Regions from separate parts of the Homo sapiens genome. Here regions 2, 3 and 4 are each linked to region 1. The links are contacts of gene promoters, found by promoter capture Hi-C in blood cells and fetal thymus (Javierre and others, 2016). All regions are on one chromosome and are shown on one strand. Each heading gives the region's core, a stretch centred on a gene start or on the middle of the fragment in contact. The rest is flanking DNA. Distances are from core to core; before and after follow the strand shown. Region 1 holds the start of CDC42BPA (CDC42 binding protein kinase alpha). Region 2 overlaps CDC42BPA (CDC42 binding protein kinase alpha). Region 3 overlaps CDC42BPA (CDC42 binding protein kinase alpha). Region 4 overlaps CDC42BPA (CDC42 binding protein kinase alpha).

Region 1 (6,259 bases), core at 1,056-3,555:
AGACCTCCTCCAGACTATTTTTCCCCAAAGAATACCCTGCGAGGCAGCCTGTGGCACTCTTGTTTTGCAGGAACACTTCAAGCACTGTACAGCTGCTGGGCTGTGCCTTTCTTTGGCTTAAGACCGGTTTCATTAACAAGCATGTTCACACTTCAACCGGAACATTTAAAATAACACCCGCACAATGTGTTTAGTGTCTAGTTAATTATTAAGTCTCTGAGCTTGAATTATTCAAGCAAAATTGATTGGGTTCAAGCTCCTTCCTTCTCTTTGTGTGTGTGTTTTTTAAAATAAAAATAAATTCTGCTCTCTACTTTCTAAATAATGTGGAAAGGGTTATTTAGCAACCATCAATACCCTGGACTGTGGGTGGTACCCAAGCGCTAATAGAATAGGTAAAGAACTGACAGCTTGACTCTTTTGTTAAAAAAAAAAAAAGTATCTACATCTCATATACTTCCATTGTCAATTAGCATTTAGTGAGACCTAACATGTTTTAGGTTCTCCTTTAAACTTCTTTCTAGTTATTTGTAAGTTGGAAAAGCAGGTATCTTGGAGCCATTTCTTTAGTTAACCGTACTTGAAAAAGCAGAAGAAATTGCTTCCTTCTTTGCTACCGCATCTTATGGTCAAATGAAACTGTTAAAATTGGCTTCACCATTAAAATCCATGTTGTTGAAGAATGTTTGTTGAACTGAAAAAATGTCCATAATATATTGCTAATTGCAAGCAAGAGGCTATAAAACTCTTTTATTATGTATCATTTTTGTTAAAGTGCATAGGAAAAAGACTTGAATAATAAACACCAAAATATTGCTTATTATCTGTGTTAGGATTAAACTTTTCTACTACTTTTAGAATTAGACAACACACACCCATATAAAGATGTCATGGCTGGAAATGACTGACCTTTTGTTTGAATCTAAGTATCATTCATGTCAAGACCGCATTGAAAATAATGCTGTTCTTAAGCCAGGCAAGTGTAGACGTTGTAGATTTCATAAAAGATTCACACTATTTCATGAATCACAACTTGAATCGACTTCTGTTAGCCTTCATTTTACGTCTAGGCCCTCATTTCTAATTCTTCCTCAGCTTCCATATTATCAAGATGTAAGATGCAATTGTGGACATGAACATAGAAACACAACCGCCTCACAGGTGTGGGGAAGGAATATAAAATAATTGTATTTTAGAGAACGACCATAAAGGAGATGGCAATTTTGAGAGAAAGTAACAGAACTGCAATGACCTAGTTTTGTGGTGTTAATTTAAATGTGGCATCTTCCATGAGAATTTTATAAAGGGAGCTCTCCTAAAACCGAGATTCACAAAAACCTGGAAGGGCCCTACAGGGATCAGGTGCCCTAGCTATTCAGCGATTTGCCTTTGCTTCCCTAATTCCTGCATTGTGCCACTGGGTTACAAGTGTGTGTGCGCATGCACACAGGGGTGTAGGTTTGATGACAGTGGTGAACTGCCTTGACTGCCTTCACAGGCTGAATCCCCCGCAGGCAGTAACCATGGCTAGGGAAAAACAGGCAGCCGCGAGGACAGTTCCGGAGGAGACAACACCAGGCTCCCGTAGGGAAACTTTTGGGAATGGAGATGGGGGATTCCATCCTTTGCGTGCAGACCCAAGACTTCGATGGTAGCTCGGACAAGTCTGTCATTGTTTTTGTCCTGGGAAATGACACACGAAGTGCTGTAATTAGACACCTAAGAAACGATTACTCTGGAGTGTGCGCGAACCGAATCTGGGGGGCCGGTGGGGAGCAGGTAAGGGGCTGAAAGGCACCGTCTCCTCCAGCTCTGTCGGAAGCCTAAAGCCCTCTGCTTCTGGGCGCCCTTAACAAACGCGCCAGACAGGTGATGTCTCCGAGGACGAGCAGGAGCCCCCCTTCGCGATCTGCACCAGAAGCCTCGGGGAGCCGGGGCCACGGCGCGGCGGTGGCGCAGTTCCCAGCCTGCGCCCAGTCCCGCCGCAGCTCCCGGCGCGGCCCGGTCATCCCGCCTCCATATGCTCCGCCACCGCCGCCCGGGCCTCCCTCAGCCCTCCCGCAGCTCCGCATTCCACGCTGCGGCAGCCGCAGCCTCGCCGCCTAGGCAGTCCACACCCCTCCCCTCGGGCTGGCGCAGCCACTCGGGCCCCGAGCCCGCGCCCCCTTGGGGGCCTCCGCTGGGCGCGCCGGCCGGACCCCGCCCGGCTTGGCCGCCGGCTGGGGCTGAGGCTCGGGCAGGGCGGGGGCGGGGAGTGGAGGGCGTGTGCGCGCGCGTGTGCCGGGGCCGGGGGGCCAGGCCGCCATATTGGATCCAGACTCGTCCGCAAGCCTCCGCCTCTGTGCGGCGGGACTGGAGGAGCCTCGCTGAGCCCAGGGCGCGAGCGCGAGAGGAGAGGGAAGGCGGGGGAGGGCTGGAAGGGAGAGGAAGGGAGTGGTTGGGAGCCGGGCTGCCGCAGCCTCTAGTCTCCTCAGCCGCGGAAGCGACCCCTCCTCCTGCGCCGGGCCGCCTCCCTCCTCGCTGTGGAAAGATGCCCTTAGCCCAGGGGTGTGAAGAAGGGGGAGAAGTAGCTGCCAGAGCCGCCCGCGCCGCCGCCGCAGCTGCTGCTGCTTGTGTCCTTTGAATTCAGAGAAGCACCCCCCCGCCTGGGGCGTCGGGAGCCTCCGGCGCGGCGGCCCGGTGCGGGTGTCGGGGAGACCGGGCTCTCTGCCCGGCGCGGCGCGGCGCGGCTCGGCCCACGAGCGACCACCGACATGGAGTGGGCTCGGGCGGCCAAGTAGCCGCTTCTCCGGAGCCCGGTGCCAGTGCCGCCCGCAGCCCGCCTTCCACCCCCGGCCGCGCCGCCGGTCAGGCCCTAGGGTGAAGCCGGGAGGAAAATGAAGAGTTTTCACCGGAATCCGTTGAAAATAGGACTGACTGCAAAGCCTTAAAGAAAGAAGGACCTCGGGAGGAGAAACGAAAAGCCGCCTCCGGGCAAGACTTGGCGTGCTCCGAGCCGAGGGGCTGCTTCAGGGACCTCGCCCCCTCCCTTTCCCGCTGGAGAAATTGCCGCTGATGCATTATCCAAGTGGTGGTTGGGAGGATTTGCAGCAACATTTTTGGTTTTCCCTCCCCCTTCTATGCATTCTGTTTTTTTCCTCCCTTTTCTGTTTTTCTTCTTCCCGGGAAGTGAATTGCTGATGCAAATCGGACTTTATTCATTAATGATGCAACCGGATTCGTTTCAGGATTACGTTGCACGAGTTGAATTTTGAATGAAGGAGAAGAGTTTTTTTTTTTTTTTTTAAAGAAGTGTTGACTCTCTAGTTCGTTGTACTTTTAATTATTATTTTATTTAAATATACGACTTAATTGTATTCTTTTAAAAATGCATTAAGTATATATTTTATGGTAATTTACCCTCAAAATATATGTATATGGGTGAAATTGAAGACGCTTCAGTTAAGTGAGGTTACTGGTGTGTTGGATGTTTAATTCAGCACCAGCATTGCATGACAGTTGTTTGAATAACAAGTGGTTTATTTTTAAAACCATACCTTTTAAAATTTAGGTTCAGATAATAGTAAAAGTCATCATAATAATTTAAAGGAAAACCAGCAGAAATCGAAGCAAACATGTCTGGAGAAGTGCGTTTGAGGCAGTTGGAGCAGTTTATTTTGGACGGGCCCGCTCAGACCAATGGGCAGTGCTTCAGTGTGGAGACATTACTGGATATACTCATCTGCCTTTATGATGAATGCAATAATTCTCCATTGAGAAGAGAGAAGAACATTCTCGAATACCTAGAATGGGGTAAGTTTGTAATTTTTAAAGAAACTGTTAATCTTTAGCTGGTCATTATGATTTAATTGGTATAGAGAGTTATGAGTAAACTCTACTCCGTTCAAAGAAAAAATACAATAAAAAAACAGACACTAGTTATTCAAGATTTTCCGCTAGTTTTTGGTAAATATTTTCCCAGGAGTAGAATTGTGCTGCTCAATTGTTGCCTTGATTTAAGGCCTAGCTAATGTGGAACTTGGCTATGAAGAACTTATGTTTTTAGGTCAACAGTAAGAGATTTTAAATCAATTCTGTGATGGGCAAAAGTGGATTATTGGTTACAGTTGCCTAATACATGGCACTATAATAGTCCTTCATTTGAAAGGTATTTATTGGTGGAAACATTCAGACTATGGAAATTATTCTCAAAATAGGAGGAGATATTAAAATATCTGTGTTTGCCTTAGGTCAACAGAAAGCTGAAGGTGGTGATCAGTGGGTTTTATTTCATCTCTACATAGTACAAGGAAAGGAAACTGCTAAACATGGACTTTCCAAAAATTATGTTTGTAAGATTAAATGACATAGTTTAAAAATCTTGTGATAGTAGTTAGAGAATGTTTGGGGGCAGCTTCCACTTGAGAGTTAGATTTTACTCGAAAGTTAATTTAAATCTAAACTGGTTAGGTTTTTGGCTTCATTCTTCTAAATATAGATGTGATTTAGAAGACCTACTGTAGTGGAATAGATCAATGATGTGAGCAAACGCTCCATGACCTTCAAGCTTGAAGGCTTGGCTCAAGTTCTTCAGCGTCTGCTGTTACATACAGGGCACATTCTAAGGTCCAGAAGTTCACTGTTGCAATAAGCACGCATCGTCACCCAGATCTGTCTGTAGTAGTGGTACGTTGGCTTTTGAAGGATTTTGGCCAAATATGATTTTGTACCTTTGGAATACTAATCATTTTAGTTTGTTCTTATGCTAAGTTCTTATGCTAAAATATCTGTTCCCAAGTAAAACTTTATTTTCCTGAAGTAAAAGTCAAGTGCTGATTGTGTCTTTTTTTTTTTTTTTTTTTGGATTTGAAATTTATTCAAAGTTAGTTTCTCAGGTAAACCACTGATACAAGAATGTCTACACGTAATAACTTTAATTATTCAATTTGCCAGTATAAGAAGGTTTCTAGCAATGTGATGTCATAAGGTTTAAAAAAATATGTAAATGTGAATAGAATAACTTTTCAAAACAGACTGCCAGACTCATCCTGGGAATGTAAGAAATCTAAACCATCTTTCAAGTAACTTCTCACTTAAGAGTGAGACAATTTTGGCTTTGGTACTGGTTTTGTGAGTATACGTCTTTTATTTGTTGAATAAAGTATTTTGTAAAGCATATGTAGTTTTACATCCCATGTTTCACAAATTGAGAAATTCTGTAGTGTTAATTTTTTTTTTTAAGACTTAAAGGGTTTTGGTACTTTTAGAGTTGGAACTTGAGTTCTTAAGTTATGGTTCCTTAATGACACTCTAGTCTGTGATTTTTGTCATTTAGTATTCTTTCCTATCTGCGAAGCTATGGGAGAACTCTATGTACCAGTAGTAAATATAATTTTAAATGATTTATGATAAAGAGAAAACTGTATCCTCCATTGCCTTCTGATTATTAGAGTTTAGGTAAGTAGTTTTATGTTATGAGATATTTCGCTGTATTATCAGAATAATTTATATATATTTTCCATTAAATATGTTTTCTTGGATGTTGTTTCTTATATATGTATAAGAACACCTCATTTATGTATATTTTTATATAAGCCAAATATCAAATAAGTATTTGGCTGAGTATTATTTTTATTAGTATGGAAGTCTGGATAAAGAGTAAAAAGAAAGTTAAGAATGGAAAAGGCTGTCAGGAGTTGCGTAGTGAGTAGTGGTATTTGCTGTCTTTAAGTTATTTGAGAATTTAGGTTAAGAGTGCCAGTCTATTTAAGAATTGAAATAGATCAGATGTTCTTCATATGAATTGATAACTGCATTTTGGGGAAATGTCCTATTTTATTTTAATTACTTAACAATATGTGAAAATCAGTTAAGACTAAGAATATTTCCAAATTGTGAATTGACCTCAGTTCAGTGTTCTAAACATTATTTTTTGGGACTCTGGTGGAAATTTACAGGGATTGTTGTTGGGGTTAAATTTGGTAATTTAGATTTGCCTTAAATGGTGTAATTTTAAGTTTAATTTTTAATAATTGAAAAAATATTGTCTTTTATTTAAATCTTTAAAAGACTATTTGCAACAGGAACGCAGTATTAATAACACAAGTTGTTACATATTTGTGTTCGTTATTTATATTAATGAAAGTGTCAGCTAGATGCTACTTATCTTTATGCTGATGATAGATTACTCTTAAAGTACAGTCAGCCAAGATTCTTACCGGCTGTATTCAGCTTCATTTCTATCAATTTCATTTTATTCCTAGTTTTAGTCCATTTTATT
Region 2 (5,621 bases), core at 1,702-4,201, 160 kb after region 1:
CACCACAATGCCTAAGATTTAATATTTTTTTTTATAGAGACAGAGTCTCACTATGTTGCCTATAGATGAGATATGTAAGTTCTCTGTGGAAAATAATTCATAACTGAAGAATATAAAAAAAGACTTATAGGTTTAGTGTATATACAGATGGGAAGTGTCACATTGCAAAGATGTCAGTTCTCTTCAGATTAATCTATAAAATCATGATTCCCATAAAAATTTCAATATGTATTATAGAACATATTAAGCTAATTCCAGCATTGATCTAGAAGAGTAATGGCAATTAAAAAATATGCTCTGCCGATAGGAAGCTCATTATTTTATAATTAAGACACTGTGGTATTGGTGCAGGTAGAGGCATATGGATAGGGTGGCCATTCATCTTGGCTTGTGTGGGAGAGTTCCAATTTATGCCTGTTATCCTGGCAATTATTAATAGGCTCCCTTTCACTGTAAAGATTGTCAACTGAAAAAAAATAGAGTAATACAGTAATATTTTTGCTCTTCTTGAGAGTCCTGAAACAAACCCACTAAATTTATGACGTATGTGGTATTAGATAATAGTGGTGAAAGGATATCATTCAGTAAATGGTGCTGGGGTAGAAAGAAATGTAACTGCCCTTTATCTCACACTACACACAAAAATTAATCCCCGGTAGATTTAAAAACTGGAAAAGCATAACTTTAAAACTTACACAAGAGAAAATTAGGACACCATCCTTATGATGTCTGGGAAGACAGAAATCATAGTATAAATTATAAGACTACATTAGTATTTTATATATATATATATTTTTTTTTTTTACAAATAAGAAGGACATTAAAAACAATGGAAAAACAAGCCCACATGCAGGGAGAAGGGATTTGTAACACATCATGAAGAACTAAGTTCGAGTAAATAGAATCCCTGAAGATTAAACAAAAAACAGTGCACACACAATTTTTACAACGGCAAGGGATATTAACAGGCATTTTATAGAAGAGGAATGTAAAATGACCAATGATACCAGTGATAATATGAAAAGATTCTCAACTGTATTCGTAATCATGCTAGCACAGTTGAAGATGTCCATATCTTTCATCTCAGAAATTTCACTTCTACATCTATAGTCTGGAGAAGCATTCATATATGAGTACTAGAAGACATTTATTAAAATATTCATCCAGCATTCTGTGTTTTAACAAAATAAAAATGGGCAACAATCAAAATTCCGTTATCAGGAGAATTGATAAATTTTGATATGTATATAATTAAAATTAATTAAAATTAATGAATTAAAACAATATGTCCCAAAATAGATGTTTTAGAAACATATATACACACACATATATATGTTTGGAAACATACACACATATGTTTGGAAACATATACACACATATATGTTTGGAAACATACACACACATATGTTTGGAAACATACACACATATATGTTTGGAAACACACATGTTTGGAAACATACACACATTTATGTTTGGAAACATACACATATGTTTGGAAACACATATGTTTGGAAACATACACGTTTGGAAACATACACATGTTTGGAAACATGTTTGGAAACATACACACGTTTGGAAACATATATGTTTGGAAACACACACATATGTTTGGAAACACACACATATACACACACATATATGTTTGGAAACACACACACACACACACATATATATTTATTTTATTTTATTTTTTTCTTTTGGAGACAGTTTCTCATTCCATCACCCAGGCTGGAGTGTAGTGACACAGTCACGGCTCACTGCAGCCTTGACCTCCCAGGCTCAGGTGATCTTCTCACTTCAGCCTCCCAAATAGCTGGGATCGCAAGCATGTGCCATCCTGCCCAGCTAATTTTTCATTTTTATTTTTTGTAGAGAAGGGGTCTCACTGTGTTGCACAGGCTGTTCTTAAACTCCTGGGCTCAAGTAATCCTCCCTCCTCGGCCTCCTTTGGCCTCCCAAAGTGCTGGGATTATAGGCATGAACTATCACACCCAGCTGATGAAGCATAATATTTGAATAAACCAAGTTGCAAAAGGCAATGCACAGTTTGGTGTCATTTATAAAGACATTTTAAAAAGTACATAGTTTTATGATGTTGTATATAGGCATAATAGTGTAAAATATGCATGGATACAGTAAACACCAAATTTAGGATAGTAGCTATGTCTGGGTAGTGGAGGGAGAGGATGAGATCAGGAATGGTAATAGAATACTTATGTTTTTCAGTACTATCTGTAATGTCTTGTTAATTTTTAGTATTTTCTATTTTATTTATATAGTATTATGAATAAAATATATTCACATAATATGCTTTATGTATATGTATATAGTTTATAATTACTATCTATAAAATAAGCAAAGATATTATTGATGCATATAAATCCTGTCTTTGCAGTTCCTTTAATCTCCTTTACAATCTAAGAAGTACTATACCAGTAGAAGTAATTCGTAGTGACTGTATAGCTTAATTTTTAAGATAAAGAATAAAATATTTTTTCCTCATCTAAAAATGGTCTTAGTAATTGCTAAGCTTCCTTCCAGAACTAAACTGTACTTCTTTGATGTTTCCTCTACAGCAGATCTTTTTCAACAGGTTAGAATACAGTCAAATGTTGAGGATTATAAAGCTAATACCCTATACAGATTGTTGTTTTCAATCACCCTGTCTCTCTTTAGCAACCATCTATCATCTACAATAGGGGTTTGAAAACTTTTTCTATAAACAGCCTGAGAGTAAATATGTTAGGCTTTGTAGGCCATGTGGTCTGTGTCACAGCTACTCACTTTGCCTTTGTAGTGTGAAAGCAGACATAGGCAATACCTAAATGAATGGGCATGGCTGTGTTTCAATAAAACTTTATTTACAAAAACAGGCAGCAAACCAGATTTGGCCGTGGGCCATAATTTACTAACTCGTGATATACAACACACTCAGAGAAATTGCTTCAGTAATCAAAGTAATACTGTTATAATATTTTACCCTTATTATGGGTGGTAAAACTGAAGCATAGAGATCTTAAATGGCATTATTCAGGTTAAAGTAGCCCTCCCATATTCCTGTAATTTACATGGCAATGTAATTTTTTAAAAAATATATAGGTTCTCCAGAGATTCTTTTTCTCCCTCTAAAAGTAGAGTGAGTTGGGTGGGTATAATCTCTTAGTTATTCACAATTACAACCTTTACTATGATTAGAAACTTAATATTGTTAAGTCCCTGAGAATCTTCTTTACAGAACCATTTTATATATGATTATTTTTCTAAGGTTTGCATTCACATGCAAAAACAAATACAAAAGCTGGTATATGATATAGTTTAGATTTGGGTATCTTACACACCATTGACTTAACATCCAAAGACAATGAAAGCTTTAAATAATATAGACAGTCTATTAGGCAGTTGTTTTAGTTCTTCTGTAAAATCAACTTTATGAAGCAATTTCTTTGTGTTGTCATGACCTGCAGTAATTGAGACTTTATCTATCTGCAGTTATCTTAAGGTCTAGAAAGTATATTTTTCCCTGTCCAGTTTCATGGGCTAGAGGATAGTATTTTTTGTGGTTATCAGGTAATGTTGACTCTTCTGTATGCAGAAAGTAGGTCTACCATAGTCACATTGGAATCTGTGTAAATCAAAAGGAAAGATAGTAAGATTAATTTAACCAGAATGAAAATTACCACACTACTTTTTATCTCTAGAAGAATACTGAAATTACATGTGTTTGAGAAAGTTTTAATATGAATCAGAACCAGGATTTGAATTAATAAAGTAATTAAATAGATTTTCTTAGAATATTACTTTTAAAATAAGTTGAGATTTTTTTCTGACAAAAAGAATATCTTACCAAACAATGAATTGTTTATTTTTCCACTAAAAATTGAATTTATTTATTTTTTCAGAGACATTAAACCTGACAATATACTGATGGATATGAATGGACATATTCGGTTAGCAGATTTTGGTTCTTGTCTGAAGCTGATGGAAGATGGAACGGTAAATAAAGATAAATCCTAAATTATTTTGTTCACAGACATTTCCCTTGCTATTTGTCTGATATATCTGTTTTAGAAACCATCTATTTATACTATCTACCCATCCATCCATTTGTCTATCTATGCGCCACCTCCTTCCACAAAGGCATTTGGGCATACTTACAGTGGGGTTGTCTAAAAAGTCACAAGCCATTTCAGCTGCTTATATCAGTGATCTTAAGATTGATAAAATATACCCTTTATGAGACCCTTGTTTGCTCCTTCTTTAGTTGGTGACTTCTGTTGTACTTTAGATATTTCAAAGTTCACCGGGGGTAAAAGAACTAAGTCTCACATAGAAAAAGAAAACGCAGCTTTGCCCGCACTTTTACTTTTTTGTCTTTCTTTCCTAAATTGCTTAGTTATTCTAAGGGATAGTGTTCAACAAATGAATCCCTTTTTCAGAAAGTTCACAAGTTGATTTAGTTTCATGTTCCCATTTGCTTAACTTTTGCTAACCCTAAACCCGTCAGTTGGTTTTTTTTGTTTACTTAATAGCTGGGCATGGTGGTGCGTGCCTGTAGTCCCAGCTACTGAGGAGTCTGAGGTGGGAGGATCTCCTGAGCATGGGAGGCAGAGGTTGCAGTGAGCCAAGATTGCACCACTGCACTCCAGCCTGGGCAACAGTGAAGTCCTGTCTCCCACCCCCTCACTCCCCCAGAGCCACCCAGAAAAAAAAGGCTGGGCATGGTGGCTCACGCTTGTAATCCCAACACTTTGGGAGGCTGAGGCAAGAGGATCACTTGAGTCCAGGAGTTTGAGACCAGCTTAAGCAACATAGTGATACTCTGTCTCTGTTTTAAAGAAAAAAAAAAGTTTATATGCCACAGTTTTATTCTGTTTTTTTTTTTTTTTAACTTCATTTTTTTCTGGCCATATAGGAGAGGTCCAAAAATATATCAGTTTAATTGACAGAAACTTTTTGGAGGACAGTTTAGTATAATACATTCCAAAAGCCATGAAAATGTCACATTACTCTAGACCAGTAATTTTAACTTTGGAAAAATTTTATTATTTTTTTTTTAGACAAAGTCTCTGTTGCCTAGGCTGGAGTGCAGAGGCGCCATCTTAGCTCACTGCAACCTCCGCCTCCTGAGTTCAAGTGATTCTTCTGCCTCAGCCTCCCAAGTAGTTGGGATACAGGCAAGCACCACCACGCCTGGCTAATTTTTGTATTTTTTGTAGAGATGGGGTTTCACCATGTTGGTCAGGCTGGTCTCAAACTCCTGACCTCAGGTTATCTGCCCACCTCGGCCTCCCAAAGTGCTGGGATTACAGGCGTGAGCCACCGTGCCCGGCCAACTTTGGAAAATTTGTCCTACAGTGATAACTTTGTTAAAAAGAATTATGTGACCTCTGTCTCTGGCCATGATAGAGGGATTAAATTGGTACCAAATTAGCACTCCCACTGTAAGGAACTGTAAAACTGGATACAATAGTTGAAGCTACTGTTTTCCAGCAGTGGACAACAGGCAGCATAATACTATTATCCCTGACATAAATGAACTCGTGAGGTATTCCTCACGATTGCGCAAAGACTGGGGCAGTTCCTGACTCTGATGCAGAAAGCTAGAGTGAAAGCAGAGCTGG
Region 3 (6,043 bases), core at 228-2,727, 190 kb after region 1:
AGAGGCGCTCTCCACATCCCAGACGATGGGCGGGCGGGCAGAGACGCTCCTCACTTCCTAGATGGGATGGTGGTGGGGAAGAGGCGCTCCTCACTTCCTAGATGGGATGGCGGCCGGGCAGAGACGATCCTCACTTTCCAGACTGGGCAGCCAGGCAGAGGGGCTCCTCACATCCCAGACGATGGGCGGCCAGGCAGAGACGCTCCTCACTTCCCAGACGGGGTGGCAGCCAGGCAGAGGCTGCAATCTCGGCTCTTTGGGAGGCCAAGGCAGGCGGCTGGGAGGTAGATGTTGTAGCGAGCCGAGATCACGCCACTGCACTCCAGCCTGGGCACCATTGAGCACTGAGTGAACGAGACTCCGTCTGCAATCCCGGCACCTCGGGAGGCCGAGGCTGGCGGATCACTCGCGGTTAGGAGCTGGAGACCAGCCCGGCCAACACAGCGAAACCCCGTCTCCACCAAAAAAATACGAAAACCAGTCAGGTGTGGCGGCGCGCCTGAGGCACTCGGCAGGCTGAGGCAGGAGAATCAGGCAGGGAGGTTGCAGTGAGCCGAGATGGTAGCAGTACTCTCCAGCTTTGGCTCGGCATCAGAGGGAGACCGTGGAAAGAGAGGGAGAGGAAGACCGTGGGGAGAGGGAGAGGGAGAGGGAGAGGGTTGAATTTCTTAATTGGTGAACCACAAGCATTTGGGGTGAGGTAATTTTTTCACATGAGAGAGAGTTTCACACTCTGAGATATTGAACATTCTGAGTTTCCAGATGTTAAATGCTTGTAGCAGTCTCCTCATGTGCTGTGTCAACAACTGACTCCCGTTCTCCTGTCCCCTTACATAAGGTGATGGTACCACCTGCAGTAGAGAACCACTAGTTTAGGATGTGGCCAGTTAATCTGATGGTTATGCTGGAGAGAAGTCTATCAGCTAGATTGTTTTGGGCTGCAGATGTGAGAATTCTTAAATAATATGGATTTATTTTCTCACTTAAGTCAGAAGTAAATGGTTTCAGTGCCAATTTTAGGGTAGCTTCCCTATTAATTTCTTGGCTTTCCTTACATGATTCCACAATATTGTAAGCCTCAACTTTCAGATGTAAACTTTGGAAGGTAAGACCTCCCTTCATACACCAGATTCAGTTCTTCATATATCATCTGACAGACATACCAGGCATTTCATTTATCACACGGTGATGTTCCCTGCTAGGACAAAAAGGAGCTAAGTAGATTCATTGGCAGAGTACACCAAGAATTCCATCTTCATATCTGCACATATCCAGAGACCCAGAAAGTGGAAAGATTCATTTAGTTTCATACATCTTTCATTTAATGGGAGATTAAAACCTCTCCCTGAAGCCCCCTAGTGGACTTCTTCTCAAGGTACCATTTAAGTTCTAACTAGGTCACATACCTAATTCTTGACCAACACTTGCAATGTAGAATGGAATTATTATGATTAACTTAAACCAGCCAGTTTTGACTGGGCCCACCTTACATGTGCACACTGTAGCCTGATAATTGAATTTGGTTCACAAGACAGAAGAGATGAATAGATGTCGGGTAAAAACAAGCAGTATCTGCCGTAGGGGATTTATGTGCCTCAGAAGTCAGTGTTAGATGGATTATCTATTTTGATGTTAAAGTTACTAAGAATAATAAGAAGAGTAGTAATGGAAAGAACAGCAGAGAACAACATGTAAAATCCTTATTTAAAAAAGAGTAAGATAGGGAAGACAAGTGGATAACCACATAAGCAGGAAATGGTCATTTCAGTAGACCTAGGAATTTTGAGGAAAGAGGTGGCAATAATGAGCGAGGATGCCTGCCCCACCTTCATACCTGTGGTAGGTGGGGTACAGGAGGAAAAGTAGCTCCTATTAATGTCCATTTGGTATTCTTTGGTCTTTTGTTTGTTTGTTTTTTTTTGAGACAGAGTCTCGATCTATCACCCAGGCTGGGTGTAGTGGCATGATCTCAGCTCACTGCAACCTCTGCCTCCCAGGTTCAAGCGTTTCTCCTGCCTCAGCCTCCCGAGTAGCTGGTATTACAGGCATGCACCACCATGCGTGGCTAATTTTTGTATTTTTAGTAGAGACGGGGTTTCACCATGTTGGCCAGGCTGATCTCAAACTCCCAACCTCAGGTGATTCATCTGCCTTGGCCTCCCAAAGCGCTGGGATTACAGGCATGAGCCACCGCACCTACACCTCCCCTGCATTGGGTATTTTTATGTCTCCCCATTTTCTACCCCCAATTTAGATGTCTTAAAAAATAAAAACAATGGATGTTCTTTTCAAAATAATAAATACGGAAAGGACCAGTTTTTAGTATGTTTTGAACCCAAAGAGAAAGAAATGTATAAGAAATACTTATAGGATGCAGAAAATCAACATCAGATGCACAATCTAGTATATCTTATACCTTTAATTCAAATTAACAAATATTTATTGACTGCCAAACATATAGGGATTATGGTTTACACACACACACACGTACATATGCACACACAAAGTAATCAGTAATGATTTGCACTAACTCATAAAGAATTATGGTAAGGGAGAGACTTATTATGTGAGAATCCCTCCATAAATAGCAGAATACCTATTTTAGAACAAAGGGCAATTTCATTTCTGATGTAAAATGGTAAAAAATGTTTTCTTTGTTCCATGTCTTTTGATGATATCTGGGAATAAGCCTCAATAGAGTTATTGTTTTTTTAAAACCTTGTATTTTTTAATTAGAAGTGCAAGATAAATTAATATTTTCTATTTTAACTAAATATTTTAGCTAAATTGTTGAGCCATGGTTACCTGTAGCTGGGCCTCAACTTTCAGACATAAAATTTGGAAGGCCAGCATTTCTGCATATGTATATTAACATGCCTAACTCTCCATTTGTAAACCAGATTCAGTTCTTCGTATAGCATCTGACTGACATACCAGGCTTTTGAGTTATCACATGGTGATGTTCCTACTAGGAGAAAAAGGAGCTATGTAGTTGATTCATTGGCAGAGTACGCCAATAGTATTTAAAACCAAAAATTATTAGAAGGTGGATTCTTTTGTATATATATATATGCAGTGGATTTTTTTTTTTTTTTTTTTTTTTTTTTTGAGATACAGTCTCACTTTGTCTCCCAGGATGGAGTACAGTGCCATGATCAAGGCTCACTACCACCTCAACCTCCGGGGCTCAAGCAATTCTCCCATCTGAGCCTCCTGAGTAGCGGGACTTCAGGCATGTGCCACCATGCCCTGCCAATTTTTATATCTTTTGTAGAGAAAGGGTGTCATTCTGTTGCCCAGTCTGGTCTCATACTCCTGTACTCAAGTGATCCTCCCACTTTGGCCTCCCAAAGTGCTGGGATTACCATGCCTGGTCTGATTTTTTATGACTTAATTTTTGAGTATTCACATGCTTTTTGTCAGTGAGTAGATGTTTTGTTCTATAAAATTGTATAAGAATTTCTCTCCAAAAAAATAATGTTATTAGTTTTAAGAATTTAGAGTATGGTGATATTTTTATTTCTTTTATCCTTTTTTTTAAAGAGTCAACACAGACTGTCCAAGCTCTGCAGTATTCAACTGTTGATGGTCCACTAACAGCAAGCAAAGATTTAGAAATAAAAAACTTAAAAGAAGAAATTGAAAAACTAAGAAAACAAGTAACAGGTAAATATCTGTGATTCACTGTTAATTCAATTTAGGAAATGTTTAAAAAATGGTTTATTCACACAAAAAACATCTATTGAGAACCTGTCTGTGTTATGTGATGTGAGTTGCATGCTAGTCAGGGAAGGGCAAATAAGAATGGGTTCTGCTCTCAAGGAGTTCACATTTTGGTCTGGGAAACAGATAAACAGTTATTGCAATACATATGAAAAGGCTATCAGGAAAAATAAATGGAGGTACGTGGAGAGTACATAGGAGGATCACCTGACACAGACTTACGTGAACAAGGATGGCTTTTTTGGAAGGCCTATTCATTTTGGAATTTGTCTGGCAAAGCATATTTGTGAGGAGAGGAAAAGGTGAGTTAGGAGTGAGGAAGAAGGACACTAGAGACAAGCAGAGTGCATGTATACAGGCATCAAGAAAATTTATTTTCTTTGTTAATGCAATTATTTTTTCAGTGTATTACTGAGATTAAAACTAAATTTGACAAGTGTTCGTATACCTATTATTCATTTATTGCATTTTTTCAATAAATATATTGAGCACCTACTATGTAGCAGGTGTTGTTTTAGGCTCTTGGGATTCAACATTAAGCAAAACAGACTAAACAAAAATTCTTTGCTTTGGCCTGGGTAAAGGACAGAAAACAGAAACCAGTAAATATATAACTTTGTAAATGATACAATATGTTGGAAGGTAATAAGTGCTTTAAAAATAAGAATAGAATAAGGAGAATTAGTCAGATGTGCAAAATGAGGAGTTTTATCATTTTAAATATAGTGCTCCAGGGGTAGGCCTGACTGAGAAGGTGACATGTTAGCAAAAATTTAAAGAAGGCAAGGGGGTTAGCCATACAGTTATCTGCAAAATATGTGTTCCAGGCAGAAGGACTAGCCGGTGCAAAAACTCTAAAATCAAATGTGCCCCAGGTGTTCAAGTAAAACAGAGAGTACTGGATGGCTAGAGCAGAATGAGCAGGCAGGGAGAATGGAAGGAAATGAGAACTAAAGGGGTGAAATGGGCTTGTTGCCTGATCAGTAGAGCCTTACTGATTGTTGTAAGGTCTTTGGTTTTTACTCAGAATGAAATGGCAGTTTTTCGCAGGGTTTAGAGGCATTACATGATCTGAATAAGCAGAGGGATAGGGAGAGAGAGCAGAAGGTACTATTTTAACGAGAATGGTGAGGCCTCTCCAGAAAGGTAGTTTTAGGCAAAAATAAGTGAAAGAGAAGAAATAATCTAATGTAGCATCTTTTATAAAAATGACTATTTAAAATGCCATATTAATACTTTGTTTATATTAAATATATGGAGATCTTAGTTTTGAGCATAATTTATGAATGCTATTTTGTGTTTTTAAGAGGCTCTCCTCCTAAGAAATATCTATATATCTAATCTCTGTTACTTTATCTTTCCAAAAGTAAGTTATTGTAGATTGGGAACATGATAAGTGAATCATGGAGTTTGCTTTGGTACCAACAATAACATTAAGAGTGCCACTGAATGTCTGTGTTAGAGTTGTATGACACTAAAAAAGCAGTAGAACAGAAGACCAGCTAGAATGGTCAGTGATTCGTCTTCAGAGAAGCGATATCGATTTGGAAAACTTATTCATAAGCATATCTCTCCTCTTTTTAATAGTAGAATGTGGCTTTGAATGGCAGTAGCTTTTGAAAGCTTGCTAATTAATTTTAAAACTGCCTTGAAATAGATGGTATTGATGTAAAATATTCAAATCAACAATCTAGTTGTTATGTCATTCACTAAAATAGTTGTGAGCTTCTTTGTTAGCTCTATGTAAGAGCTGAATTTTTAAATATTAAAACGTTTTGCTGTCATTCACAATAATGTTCTGGCACTATCCAAAGGAAACCTTTGTTGATGTCTAACCCAGTATATATAGAATAATAATAAGTAATTTCATTTTCTGAGCAATTCCAAATGGTATCGTATTTTTAATTTTATTGTTCATGTGTTTATTGTAATATATAGAAATATAGTTGATTTTTATATGTTTATTTTGTATTCTATAGTGTTGCTGAACTCACTTATTAGTTCTAGGAGGGTTTTTAAAAAATAGATTCTTTGGGATTTTTAATTCTGACAATCATGTCACCTGCAGGTGGGAACAGTTTTATTTCTCCCTTTCTGATCTATATGCTTTTTGTTTCCTTTTCTTGCCTTATTGCAAGAACTTGCAGCACTGTGTTAAAAGAAGAATGATGAGAAGAACATTCTAGCTTCTTAATCTTGGGGAAAAGCATTCATTTTCCTCTGTTTCTGTACTTCTAAGGGTTTTTAAAATCATTAATGGGTGCTGAATTTTGTCAGATTCTTTTTCTGTATCAATTGATATGAACATACGATTTTCAAA
Region 4 (6,210 bases), core at 1,699-4,198, 200 kb after region 1:
TCTGTTGGGTTTTTTTCTTACTGGTTATAAGAATTCTTGGAAATATTTGGGCATTCTAATCTTTTGTGAGTTATATGTGTTACAAATATCTCTCAGTGGCTTATCTTTTTGCTTTTAGGAATCTTTTTATTAAAAAGTGTTCTTAGGTTTGTTGTGGCCAGATTTATCAATATTTTTATGGTTAGTGTATTTGCTGTCTTGTATAAAAAATCTGAGATTTTAAAAAATTCTCCTAAATTTTTATCTTAAAGTTTTAAATTTTTAGGTCTGTATCTCAACTATTTTTTGAAAACTGTGAAGATGGAATTTTGATTAAAACTGCATTTAATCAGCTGGGCATGGTGACTTATGCTTGTAATCCTGGCACTTTTGAGAGGCTGAGGCAGGAGGATCACTTGAGTCCAGGAGTTTGAGACCAGCCTAGGCAACAACAGAATGAGACCCAGTCTCTACAAAAAATAAAAAAGTTAGCTGGGTGGTGCACACCTGTCATCCCAGCTGCTCAGGATGCTGAGGCAGGAGGTTCACTTGAGCCTGGTAGATTGAGGCTGCAGTGAGCCATGATCATGTCACTGCACTCCAGCCTGATCAACAGAGCAAGACCCTATCTCAGGGGGAAAAAAATGCACTGAATTTATAGGTCAATTTAGGGAGAATTAACATCATTACAATATTGTCTTTAAGTTCTTACTATCTATATTTATTACTATTTTTCTGAATATACACACAGATTTCCAGAATAGAACGGATTGTTATTACTTACATACAGCAAAGAATAACTACATGGCTCCCTTCTGTGCCAAGTCTTACCCCAAGAGAAATACCCTGAGAGCTGGCAGGATAAAACCCTACACATAAGGAGTCTGTGTTGTAAATGAGGAGCCTTGAAAACATTTATGCAGGTGCTTATATAGAGGAAAGAAGCAACTGCTTCCTGCTTTCTCCTGTTCTGAGAGAGTTCCTTGGAAATCTAAAGAGAAGGATCTTGGGTTCTTTCTCTAACCCTTTGGAATATAGATAAATATTCCCTCTGGAAATATAAGCCCAGAGTCTCCTGCTCCATCAAAGGAAGCCCCCTTGGTCCAGGCTCCTACTCTCTCCCACCCCACCTTGAAATGTAAACACATAACCTCCAGAAGGTAAATCTCTTAGTTTTCTCACTACTAAATCAGTTATAAGTTACTTTTTAAGACTTTCATTTAGCCCAGGTTTCGGTAAAATTTGTTCAAAAGGGACCAGCTGCAAAAACATAAAAGTTTCTCTGCATTCCTAAAGTCTTTTTATTTGTAAACATGATATCTCTCCATATATTTAAAGTTCTTTTAAAATGTTCTTCCATAAAATTTCATACAGAAAAGACTTTCATTTCTTTTCTTGTTTTACTGTATTAGCTAGAACCTCAGTACAGTGTTGACTAGAAATGATAATAGCAGGCATCCCCATCTTGTTCCCCGATTTTAAAGAAACTGCCTCTGATATTTCATCGCTAATAATGTTTGCTGTAAGTTTTTAATAAATAATTTTTATCAGGTTAAAGAAGTTACCTTCTATTCCTATTTTGTTAATACCTTTTATTTAGAATGGATACTGACTTTATTAAATGTGCCCTTCTGTGCTCTATTGATATGATTATATGATTCTTGTCCTTTAATAAGTTGGTGTGGTGAACTACGTTTGTAGACTTTTTCTAATATTAAGCCACTGTTATATTTCTGGGTTAAGCCCAAATTTCTTATAATACTGTGATAGTATAGATAACATTTATGTAGCAAATATCTGTTCTAATAGCACTGTTGTGAATGCTTTACATATATTAAATTATTTAATCTCCATCACAGCCCCATGAGTTAGGTGTTATTCTCATTTTATGAATGGTGAGACCAAGCACAGAGAAGTTAGTTCACTTGCTCAAGGTCATAGAAATAGAAAGTGGTGGAGCTAGATTTTCAGCACAAGGAGTTTAGCTCCAGACTTCATGCATATCTACTTTATATATCACTGGAACTGATTTACTAATTTTCAAAAAGGGTTTTCACTGTTTTTTATAAGTGAGATTGACGTGTTTTTTTTTTTCCTCTTTTCTTTTTTTTGATATTCAGATTATACTGGTCCATAGAAAGAGTTGAATTGCATTCCTGCTTTTTCTCACGGACCAATGAGTTATTTATAAGTATCTTTTAAAATTTTCAATATATGGAGTTTTATCTTTTTTTGTTGACTTCTAATTTAGTTGCAGTGTCATTACAGAACTTGCTCTACGTGGTATCTGTTCTTTGAAATCTACTGAGACTTGCTTCATGGCGTAGCCTGTTCCATTTTTAAAACATTCAATGTGTGTTCTTGAAAATAGTTCGTGTTCCAATTTAGAGAGCAAGCTTCTGTGTATGAAGCTTTTCAGATCGTCTTTATATTCACTATTTTTTTTTTTTTGCCTACCTGGTTTATCTATTAATGACTAAGAAATTAAAATTTTTCATTATAGTGATGTTTACCAATTTTTCTCTGAAGTTCTAACAGTTTCTTTTTAATGATTTTGAGACTCTCTTATAGAAGGCACAAAAGTTTAGGATAATATTTCTTCTTAGTGTATTGAATTTTATCATTATGTAGTGATATTCCTTATCCTTAGTAATACTTTTTCTACTGAAGTCAAGATTTCATTTCTTAATCCAGTATAATAGATGGCCTTTAACTGGTTACTAATGTATATGGATGTGTTTCTACTATCTTTTTTTCTGTTTGTCATGATTTTTGCATGCTGCTTTTTATTTCCTTTCTTCCCTTCTCAAAAGTTTTTAACTGTGGTAAAATACGTATAACATAAAATTACCATCTAAACAATTTTCAAGTGCACAGTTAAGTAATGTTAAGTGTATTTACATTCTTGTGCAGCAGTCTCCAGAACTCTTTTTGTTTGCAAAATCATTTCTTCTTCACTGAAATTTGTTGTTGTTGTTGTTGACATTTTAGTTTACTCTCTAGTCTTTTGGTGGTTACTCTTGGCTTCTACCATGTGTATTAACCAAGTTTAAGTTTAAGTTAAATATCCTAAAACTATTTCCCACAAACAATTTAAAGACGTTTAATTTTACAGATTGAGTATCCCTTATCTGAAATGCTTGGGACCAGCATTTGGATTTTGGAATATTTGCATTATACCAATTGAGTATTTCTAACCTGAAAATCCAAAATCTGAAATGCTCCAGTGAGCATTTCCTTTGAACATCATGTTGGCACTCAAAATGTTTTGGATTTTGAAACATTTCAGATTTCAAATTTTTTGGATTATTCAAGCTGTATTACCTCTTTACAGCTTTATGTGTTGTTATTGGCCAGTATTTTAGCTGTTATCTTTTGTTTACTGTACAAAGTTAACATTTTTATAGTATAATCTTATATACACATTTGTTTACATTCACATTCATGTTAACCATTTTATTAGCTCTTCATTTCTCTTGCATTAGATCTCTAAAATCTTTTTTTTTTTTTTCCTGAAATAAAGCTTTACTGGTTCCTTTAGTGCAGATCTGATTATGGTAAGCTCTGTCAGTTTTGTTTATATGAAGCCTCAGACTTGAAAAGTAATTTTTGGGGTATATAATTTTAATTATCTTCTCATATCTTTGAAAATATTTTACCCTGTTTCTGTTGCTGTTGTTACTTCTTCAGTGTCTGTTCTTAGTCTAATTTTCCTCCTCCCCGCCTTATTTGAGGATGGGGAATAGGTGATTTGTCTTTCTTTCCCTCTGATTTCTTTACGGTCTTTTATTTCTCTTTGGTATTACCCAGCGTCATTTTTTGAACACTTCTGGTTTGGGTTTTCTAAATTTTTTCTTGATTCATAAATGTAGAGCTTCCTGTGGTGATGGATGCATGTCTTTAATTTTAACATTTATATTTTTTCACTTCTTTTCTTTTCTTTTTTTTTGAGTTGGAGTCTCACTGTATTGCCCAAGCTAGAGTGCAATGGAGTGATCTCAGCTCCCTGCAGCCTCAGCCTCCCAGGCTCAAGTCATCTTCCCACCTTAGTAGCTACGACTATAGGTGCATACCACCATACCTGGCCTTTTTTTTTTTTTTTACATTGTTATTTTTTGTAGAGATAAGGTCTCACAATGTCGCCTAGGCTGATCTTGAACTCCTTGGCTCAAGCAATCCTCCTGCCTCAGCCTCCCAAAGTGCTGGGATTATAGATGAGAGCAACTGTGCCTGGCCTTATGTTTTCTATTTCTAAATGTTCCATACAGTTCTTCTATAAATCTGCTTGGTCATTTTTAATAGCCTTTTGTCATTTTTTTGTTTTTATTATTTCATCCTTTATTCCTTGAAATATTTCATATGTAGCAATTTTGTGTTGATATCTAATGATTTTAATACCAAGATACCTTTGATGTTTATTTTTATTGTTTTTGTTGTTTGATTGTGGTGCTTTGTTCTTTGAGTATTTTGGAATCTGTGGTTGTGAGCTCATTCTTGTTTGTTCTTAATATGTGAAAAATTCAGATTTCATTGCACTTCTTTCCCCCAAAGAAAATTTGCATTTCCTTTTGCTGGGAGGCAGGTAGTGGTACTGCCCTGAGTCCACTTTAGCTCTCCTCTAAGTTTCTCATTTTAATTAGGGAGTCTCCGGTTTAGTTTCTATCTCCTTGCTTCTGGCTTGAGGCGTAGCCTCCATGTCAAGGGCAACACTTGTTTTTTATGAAAACAACCTCACACATATTTATTAAATTTCACAAATATTTATTTTGACCATCATATCGTTTATTCCTAAACTTTTTCCTCATTTGTGGAAACTAAGGTACTATAAGGTTAAATCAGCAGCTCCTGTGCATTTACTGTATTAGCATAAGGAATTGAGACTATATCAGGACACCATGCCGTTAATATCTGTTCAGAAGTAGTTTATTTCTTTTAATTTGTCCTAAGGTGAATAATTTTGGCTCTTCTTGACTTAATGATAGCTATTCTGATGGCCAAATTTGGTCTCTAGGTTGCAGAATTGGTAACTTATATTCTTTTTACAAAACTGTAGGAACTAGTCCAGGCTAGTGAGCGATTAAAAAACCAATCCAAAGAGCTGAAAGACGCACACTGTCAGAGGAAACTGGCCATGCAGGAATTCATGGAGATCAATGAGCGGCTAACAGAATTGCACACCCAAAAACAGAAACTTGCTCGCCATGTCCGAGATAAGGAAGAAGAGGTGGACCTGGTGATGCAAAAAGTTGAAAGCTTAAGGCAAGAACTGCGCAGAACAGAAAGAGCCAAAAAAGAGGTTAGTAGTCAGGCAAATTTTGTAGTGCCCATGGGATAGTGATTAAAGCTGCTTTTTGAGACTAGTAATATAATATATAATTTTTAAAATATTTCTAAAGTTATTTTTATAGTTCATTAATATTATTTAATATGGATTTAAACATTTGAATTATCTTCCTGTTACAAGGTAAATTCTCATTGGGATAAATGTTTTGTTTGGAAAAAAATTATAACCGTGAAATCTGCATTTTTCATTCTGTTTTAAAGCTGGAAGTTCATACAGAAGCTCTAGCTGCTGAAGCATCTAAAGACAGGAAGCTACGTGAACAGAGTGAGCACTATTCTAAGCAACTGGAAAATGAATTGGAGGGACTGAAGGTATCTTTTGACTTCACATTTATGAAGCTTAATTGATTTTCTTCTCTTTAGGCTTGTTAGGAGTGTTAGCTTGTATACTGTATTCGGTGTGCAGTGAAAACTAGCCTTTCTTCAAACCTACTATTCATAATTCTCGTTCTTACCAGTAGGAAGCTAATACAGATTTCTTAATTATGCTGAAGAAAATGGAGGACTATGTTTAGTGGGAAATATGAATCTATCAGGAGGGAGTTAGAATGTTTATGCAGACCTACACAAGATGTACTGGTAATCTGCATGGGAGTCATGGTTAGATATCCAGACCCTCTATATATCTCATAAATGACTCAGGAGAAGCTCAGGGGTAGCTTTGCAGACACTTGTGTCTGTTAGGATAAGATGATAATGGGCATAGTCTAAAACATCTCAGCAGAAGGTGCTTTGCAAGGGAAATTCTTGAGCCGTTCTGGAGTTAGACTACCTATTCTTAACTTCTTGCTTTCACCAGTTACTTGCTGTGTAACATGTAACATTGGACAGAACATTATGGGGCCGGGCACAGTGGCTCACGCCTGTAATCCCAACACTTTGGGAGGC

What was found. The method cuts DNA at HindIII sites, captures the fragments that hold promoters and counts their contacts. A CHiCAGO score of 5 or more calls a contact.
Region 2: a fragment that was not itself captured here is called in contact with the fragment with the promoter of CDC42BPA in region 1 in 1 of 17 cell types (endothelial precursors); the score reaches 5.5 in endothelial precursors.
Region 3: a contact is called between a fragment that was not itself captured here and the fragment with the promoter of CDC42BPA in region 1, in 1 of 17 cell types (endothelial precursors). The highest score is 5.8, in endothelial precursors.
Region 4: a fragment that was not itself captured here is called in contact with the fragment with the promoter of CDC42BPA in region 1 in 1 of 17 cell types (endothelial precursors); the score reaches 6.2 in endothelial precursors.

Annotation. Positions count from the first base shown.
Region 1 is chr1:227,314,538-227,320,796 of GRCh38, reverse strand. It overlaps CDC42BPA (CDC42 binding protein kinase alpha), which reads left to right and starts at 2,305. Exons shown (of 37, transcript NM_001394014.1): 1 at 2,305-3,792. The coding sequence starts at 3,615. It overlaps LOC124904531 (a long non-coding RNA gene), which reads right to left and starts at 2,205. Exons shown (of 2, transcript XR_007066911.1): 1 at 1,799-2,205; 2 at 736-1,683. The HindIII fragment of the contact is 5,578 bases long and covers 1-4,548 here.
Region 2 is chr1:227,158,915-227,164,535 of GRCh38, reverse strand. CDC42BPA (CDC42 binding protein kinase alpha) reads left to right here. Exons shown (of 37, transcript NM_001394014.1): 6 at 3,900-3,993. Among named protein-coding and RNA genes, the nearest start is that of CDC42BPA, 160 kb to the left of the region's middle. The HindIII fragment of the contact is 838 bases long and covers 2,533-3,370 here.
Region 3 is chr1:227,126,732-227,132,774 of GRCh38, reverse strand. CDC42BPA (CDC42 binding protein kinase alpha) reads left to right here. Exons shown (of 37, transcript NM_001394014.1): 11 at 3,544-3,666. Among named protein-coding and RNA genes, the nearest start is that of CDC42BPA, 190 kb to the left of the region's middle. The HindIII fragment of the contact is 7,743 bases long and covers 1-5,348 here.
Region 4 is chr1:227,111,736-227,117,945 of GRCh38, reverse strand. CDC42BPA (CDC42 binding protein kinase alpha) reads left to right here. Exons shown (of 37, transcript NM_001394014.1): 13 at 5,033-5,275; 14 at 5,524-5,634. Among named protein-coding and RNA genes, the nearest start is that of COQ8A, 170 kb to the right of the region's middle. The HindIII fragment of the contact is 1,112 bases long and covers 2,393-3,504 here.